2 separate regions of the Homo sapiens genome follow, and region 2 is linked to region 1. Evidence: promoter capture Hi-C in human tissues and cell types (Jung and others, 2019). All regions are on one chromosome and are shown on one strand. Each heading gives the region's core, a stretch centred on a gene start or on the middle of the fragment in contact. The rest is flanking DNA. Distances are from core to core; before and after follow the strand shown. Region 1 holds the start of TENM4 (teneurin transmembrane protein 4). Region 2 has its middle 40 kb from the start of TENM4.

Region 1 (3,528 bases), core at 1-2,500:
CCACGTTTATAATCTGTGATGCCTTTATAATCAGCATATGGCAACTGGCTAGACAGTCTCCTCACCACACAGAAGAGTTTTCAAAATAGCCTACCCCTCCTTTCACATTTATGTGAAATTAGCATTGTCACATTTCCTCCTTCATTGACTACTTTAGATCAGAGAGACACACTGTAGCAGAAGATCATGAAGGAAGTTGTCTTAAAGAAGGAAACTAACATAAATTAAGCATCTCATATACACCCAGTGCTTTCTTTCCATTGTTCTCTCTTTTAATCCTCACCAAAACTGGTGAAGTCGGTATCATCCATTTTATAGATGAGAAAACTGAAGCCGGGTAAGGGGAAATGGCTCGCACTAAGTCCTTTAGCCAGCAGGCAGCAGGGCTGGAGTGGGAATTCCTCCAGTCTCTTCCCCAAAGCCCTTCCAAGTTGCCACTCAGTCAAACTACCGCTCTCATCACATAAAAATGCCCTTCTCTTGGAAATGTGCTTGCCATCACGATCCAAACATTCGAGGGACAGAAATCTCTTGGACCGCAATCACTGCTATTTTTTAAGTGATTGTTATCACGACTCAGTAGCTGTTACCATGGTTTTGGGGAAGTTGTCCGAGGAAGGAGGGCCTTTCTTTGGGCATCTTGCATGCCTGAAGAAGGAACTCAAGATCTCAGCTCTTAATTACTCTGATTGTGCTGCAGTAGCAACTTGAAAGAGACCGTCCCTAGAAAAGTGTTGGGGTGGGGGGTGTGGAGTAACATCCAGCGAGCAGGCAGAAGGGAGGCCCTGGGCGCCAGAGAGACCCAGGGAAAGGCGAAGAGGAGGGAGAGGGGACGAGACCGTGCTACGGGGAGCCTGGAGAGAAAGCCAAAGGAGGAGGAAAGAACAAAAGGCAAGAGGAGAGGAAGTACAAGAAAGTCCAGAAAGGAAAAGAGAAAGTTTCAGAAAGGGGAAGAGAAAGCAAGCAAGGAGGGTAAAAGAAGAAAGAGACCAGAAAGATACCGAACTGAGAGAGCTCGGAGAACTCGAGAAAGCAAAGGAGGTAAAAGGAGAGAAGATGGAGAAGGCGGCGGAGAGGAAGGGGGAAGGAGACAGAGGAACCGAGACTGGGGTGAGGGAGCGGCCGCGCGTGGCCCCCGGAGAGGCGCCCATCACCTGCGTGGCGCCCCCCCGCGCCGGAGTGCGGCCCTGCTCCCAGCGCCAGTGCGCCGCGCGGCTCGCCGGCCTCGTAGGATTGGCTACCGCCTCCCATTCATGTAACCTGCGTGTGCGTGTGCGTGTGTGTGTGTGTCTCTCTCTCGCTCGCCCTCTCTTTCTGTGTGTAAGAGAGCGAGGGTGGGGGACGGAGGCAGGCAGGCGAGCAGGCAGGGAGGGGAAGAAGAGAAGGGAAGCTATTAAACACACACACACACACACACACTCACACACGCGCGCGCACACACCCGCCCCAACCCCCCAGAAGCCTCGGGATTGCAGCTGTTTCATGTGGGGCAGCAGTGCTGGCAGGGACGCCGGCCGGGAGCGGCCGGGAGCGGGAGCCGGTCGTGCGCGCGCGGCTGGAGGCTCGCTGGGGCTCCGCTCCCCGCGGGAGCTATTGTTGGTCTCGCTGGAGCTGAGCGCAGAGCCCGGACCTGCTCCTTCCTGGGCGCCCCGCTACGGCTCGCGGAGCAGAGGAGCCGCGCCGCCGAGAGAGAGAGGAGCCACCGGCGCGGCGCCTTGCCTCCCTGCCGCCGTCCTCGCCGCTTCCCCGGCGGTAGCAGCCTGCAGCCACGGTAAGGCGGCGTGATCCGCTCTACGGAAAAGCGCCTTGGGGACCGCGGCGACGCCTCGCCAGCTCCATCGCCCTCTGCACTGCTGGCCCGGGCAGGGTTCGGGTAGCTCACGCGGCTGCCGAGGGCTCCGGGAGATGTTTGCTTGCTCCCCTGGCCCAGGAGGAGGGAGGCTAGGGCGCGGGTGGCCGAAGAGGCAAGCTGTTCTGGAGCCTGGAGCCGCCGCAGCCCCCGGAGCCCGCCGCGGACTGGAGCCTGGGAGCAAGGGTTGGGGGAGGGCAGGGAGGTGGGAAGCGGGTGGGAGGGAGGCGGCGCGCCCCAGGTTCGTCTGCCTCTCCCGGATCCCGTTCCCCGCCCCGGCCCGGTCGCCTGCAGCCCCTCTGCAGACTAGCTCGCCCCAGGCCCCCGTCGGGCGCTGGAGGAGCCCGCGAGGCGGCGCCGGGCTTCAGCGGCTGCAGCCTGCCCTGCGGGGCAAGTGCCGGCTGCAGCAGCCCCGCACGGGCGGTGGTTGGAGCTCAGATCCTGGAGATGCGACCCCAGCTCCTCGCCCTCTGCAACCCGCGGGGCGCCCGCCTCTCCTCACCGGGCGCCCGGCCGCGGTATTGATGTTCGTCTAGGAGCCAACTGAGGCTGCAGCCGCCAGATGGACGCTTGGAGGGCTCCCGGGTGTGAGTGTGACTGTATGACTACTCTCACCCCCAGCTTCGGGAAATGTGCTCTGGGTTGAAATGTGATCACCGAGCTCCTCAGTCATTTTAATTGCCATTTTTAAATGCGGTCGTTACATTGGAGGAGCAGACTGGAAGGTAGTGGGGCGGCGTGTGTGTGTGTGTGTGTGTGTGTGTGTGGACACACACACGCAACCGAGGAATACACAACCAACTACTTGGGTGAAGGGCGGGGGGTTCACCTAGTGAGTCCTTCTTGGCGGGGGGGTCGGGCGAGTTAGCTGCCCGCTGCCCGCCCCTTCTCTGCCTGCCCCCGCCTAGGCGAGGTTGGAAAGTACTGGAAATTCAGCTGCGTGGTCCTTAACTTTGGAAATTGGCTCCGCTTTCAGGGCAAAATGTTAAGGCGATTTATGCACCCGCGTCCATGTGGATGAGTGTATTACTGCTCAGTTGGGTGCAGAGCCCTCAACAGTACCGCGCCAAGCCCCCACCCGATCTCTAACTCCCTCCCACCCCCTAACCGTGGAGAGAGGGTTTATAGAAATGCAGTTATCTGTAAACCATCGACGCAGTGAAAGGGGCGCAGGGAGGCAGCCAGAGTTTTGCCTGAACCTGCATACTGGCTTGGTGTTTGTAGCACACGAGATCACCCCGCTGCTTTGTAGAAGGCGGTGGTGGGGCAAGCTCGGGATTCCAATCGCCGGGGTGGGGGGTGGGGGGAAGAGGGTGCCCATGTACTGAGCTCTGAGGCCGAGTAAGGAGAGAGATCTGCTGAGCGGCATCGCGGGCAATTACATAAGCTGCCTCGGTGATTACCCGGAACTGTGATGCGAGCTCCCGGTTCTCGAAAGACAAGCCTGAAAGTTTGCCTGCTTGGGGAGTGTAAGTACCGGGGCGCCCCCACCCCGGCCTGGGTAGCTAGGATACGCCTCGCACCACGGCGCCCACTTGTGCGATGGGCGTCGGGTGCTGATGCTGCTGTCCCCAAAGAACCGGTTACCGAGGCAGGGACTAAGTGGGGGCATCCGGAATTGATCGCAGAGGAGGAGTCAGTCAGAACTGAGGTTTCATTGGGTCTTCAGAGCTCCAAGT
Region 2 (3,608 bases), core at 668-3,167, 40 kb before region 1:
CCCAGCTCCCTTCTCACTTCCTTTCCAGCATGCCACCCACATACAGACAATGTCTAATTACAAGACTGCTTCAAAATTATAAAATCAGACTATTGAAATCTCATTAGAGACCTCGACAGAGACCCTGTTTTAAACTGGGGTAAGTGTGGGTATTCCTTGTGCTGTCCCTTGGTGATTTGTATATATCCACTTATCTAAATCTGACTCCTAAAACGAAATATGCAAATATCAGATGTCAAATACCAAAAAGATTGAGTCTTTTCCACTTATCCAACCTTCCAGCACCCTTTGTTGCCATTATTTTTTTCCCCTGCAGAAATGTACTATAAGAACAAACAGACAAAACAAACAAAATTAGCTTTTCTAAGGTGGACACAAGGTTAAGTTAAAGAGGCAGCCCCTTTTAACCAGTGATCAGGAGAGCTTCCTTCTTGAAAGTACTCCCTTCTGTCCTCCACCCCCAGGTTGTCCACAAAACAACATTGGTTCTGGACTTCTCAATGGGGAAAAGTCTTTAGCTTTTTCAATTGAAATTTGGAAATAATCCTGAGTCTTTTGGGGACGAATCTGATGAACATACTGAGTGGCCAAGTGGGAGACACTGAATTCTCCTTGAGTTCCTCCAGATTCTGCCCGCTCTGGAGGCTCTTCTGAGACTCAGAAATGAGCACCCTGGAAGCTTGTCCCAAAGGAAAACCCCCAGCGTTTTGAGCAATGGTAAAAGCTTGGGAATTTGATTTTTTGCTTAGGGGAGAATTTCAAAAATAATGTCCACGTTTGCTGAACACTTAATACACCTAGGGGAGTCTGCCAGGCATCTCCTGTAAATGTATAATCCTCATAGCTATCCTGTCATGCAGATATCATTATTGTTATTACTCGTGTTTTGTAGATGGGGAAACTAAAGTTAAGAGAGTTTCAATCATTTGTTCAAGGTCATACAGACAGGAAAAGGGGAAGTCAAGATTTGGAATTGTATCTCATGGGGTCCAAAGTTCATGCTCTTAACCCTACACTGTTCTGCATGGGAAGCTCCTACAAACCCTAACCACCAGAACACACTGACGTAGAAAGAGAAGGAAGAAAACTTCTTGAAACTTTATGATCATGTTTTGGTGTCTCCAGTTCACTCATTCAACAAATAAACTTAAGTACCTACTTTGCATGGAACTCATGATTAATGTGAAGTGTTAAGCAGCAAGCAAAACAAACCCAGTCTCTGCCTTCCTGAAACTGAGAGTCTAGTCAAAGAGATGGACATTAGCACTGGAGCTTTTTAAGGAGAAGAGCAACATGATCACAAATTCTCATTTGGGAAAGAGCTCTCTGGCTACAGTGTGAAGTAGACATGACCCATGGAGCACCAGGTTCAAAGGAGTTTTTTTAAAAAACAAGAATTTATATCTAAGAAAGTCAATTTCTCCCTTCCTCCTCTGGGCTGCCCCACTTTTTGTTCTTCTTGTTTTTACATCAAACCAAGTTGTTTTCCTTTGATTTCCAGGTCTGTTTTCACTTCTTGACTGTGAGCACTTTCAGTTTAGAGTTTGTCTGCTTTTGTATCCCCAGCATCAAGCATATTGCCTGGCACACAGTTATTTCATATGCATACTACCTGACATACAGTTGTTGCCTGGCACATAGTTATTACATATATGTATTGCTGGCTCATAGTTATTACATATGTATATTGCCTGGCACATAGTTGTTACATATACATATTGCCTGGCCCATAGTTATTACATATATGTATTGCCTGGCACATAGTTGTTCCCTGGCACATAATTATTACATATACGTATTGTCTAGCACATAGTTATTACATATAAATATTGCCTGGCACCTAGTCAATACGTACACCACACCTATTGCCTGGCACATAGTCATTACATACACCACACCTACTGCCTGGCACATAGTTATTGCCAGGCCAATGACTATGTTAAACGAGTGACTTCTTACTGCCCATAAAGTTGAATTATATGTGTTGCTATTTAATAGATAAAAAATATATAGTTTATAAAAGGCTTTACCTGGGGTGTGTGTGTGTGTGTGTGTGTGTGTATCTTTAGTTAATCGTCTACCAACAATCCAGAGCACAATCACTTTTAGCCTCCAGGCCTTACTGGACATTCCTTTTGTTTGCTGTATGGTTGCTAATGTCAATCACATAAAAAGGCTTGTTAGCTACCAGTGGTGTAGGAGATGAGTCTCTGTTGATCATGCTAGTTGTCATTCCATGATTGAGCATTTAATTAATAACAGTTGATTTCTCTTTAGTTGATTAAGAAGGATATCATTTAAATTTAGTAAAGTGGAAAATTGTGTTTGTGTTTATTGTTTTACTTTCAAAGCTGATTCTCAGGATTTCTTCTCTTTTTTTTTTTTAAAAAAGCCCTTTAATGTGCCAAAAATCATAAATAAATATAACCTAATCAAAAATCATGGTGAGAATTGAAACGTCAACATAGACACAAGCTTCTCATTTGCTTATTGTTGATCTTAATTAAATACAACATATGTTCACATTTTTAAATTTCATATATATTTTAATCTATTCTTTTCTCAGTTTACAGTTTTAGTTTTTATGTTGGGAACTTCTTATCTTATATTCATCACATTTTAAGGATCTTAGTCCCAGATCTTTGTGATCTCAGTTTTCTTCTACCCATTAGTCTAATTTCCTGTGCCTTCCCCCATTTATTCATTCATCCATCCATCCATCCACCCATCCATTCACTCAGTCAGTCAGTCAATGAACACTTCCAGAGTTCTTCTTCTTTCCCAGGTGCTAAACCTGAACTGAGAAAGGCACAGTCATTTGTAGGGAGCTCGTACTCTGCCAAACAGAGCAGACCAGGCCTGCTCGTGTTTTAGTATCAAAATACAGAACACTGTTTCAATGAGAACATTCACACTGGAAAGCCTCAACACATGCCTGCCTGGGTGATTCAAAGTGCTAATGACATTAGGACGACATTGTACTTTCCCCTTTCTGATGGTATTGCCAAAAACTGCTAGAAAAGTTCTAATTCCAGCCTACTTCCTTGGAATGCTGAGAGGATGAAAACACATAATGAATTTGAGATGTTTTAAAACCTGTAAACTTCTGTTCCAGAAAGAGTAATTTCAGCAGCAACACTTGTGAGACTAAACTTTAGAGTTCATTCAGAGTTAGAGGCTCTTCTACCTCATAGAGTTGGCTGGGATGGAAAATGTCACCCCCACTTTATAGATGCAAAAAAGAGGATGACTGAGGGAGTCTCCCATAATGCACATATATCCATTGCTATAATTGATGATAATAATTTCACGTGTCCCCATTTCCGTGACTTAATCACATGGAGTATTTTAAAGCAGTTCAATGTCTGGTGCATAATAGATGGGCAATGAATGTTCCTTGAAACTGACTTCCACTAGCAGTTTTGAATATCACTCTACAATCCCCACCCTCTCTCCAAGTGATGGGTGTCTTTCTGGAAAGACCATGGAAGAAAGGATTAAAGAAAGAGAGATGTTTGGCCTCCTCCAAAAACCTGTGATTGTCTGCCATTTACATTGGTATGTCACCATCAGTAGTGACGTGTGTGTAATTTTTACTTATACTAGCT

What was found. The method cuts DNA at HindIII sites, captures the fragments that hold promoters and counts their contacts. A contact is called where the count stands out against the background at its distance.
Region 2: a fragment that was not itself captured here is called in contact with the fragment with the promoter of TENM4 in region 1 in 1 of the 25 tissues and cell types used here (aorta).

The regions. Positions count from the first base shown.
Region 1 is chr11:79,438,752-79,442,279 of GRCh38, reverse strand. It overlaps TENM4 (teneurin transmembrane protein 4), which reads left to right and starts at 1,250. Exons shown (of 34, transcript NM_001098816.3): 1 at 1,250-1,771. RefSeq lists silencers at 1,122-1,291, 1,552-1,661. The HindIII fragment of the contact is 13,466 bases long and covers 1-3,528 here.
Region 2 is chr11:79,479,361-79,482,968 of GRCh38, reverse strand. No RefSeq gene overlaps it. Among named protein-coding and RNA genes, the nearest start is that of TENM4, 40 kb to the right of the region's middle. The HindIII fragment of the contact is 3,520 bases long and covers 158-3,608 here.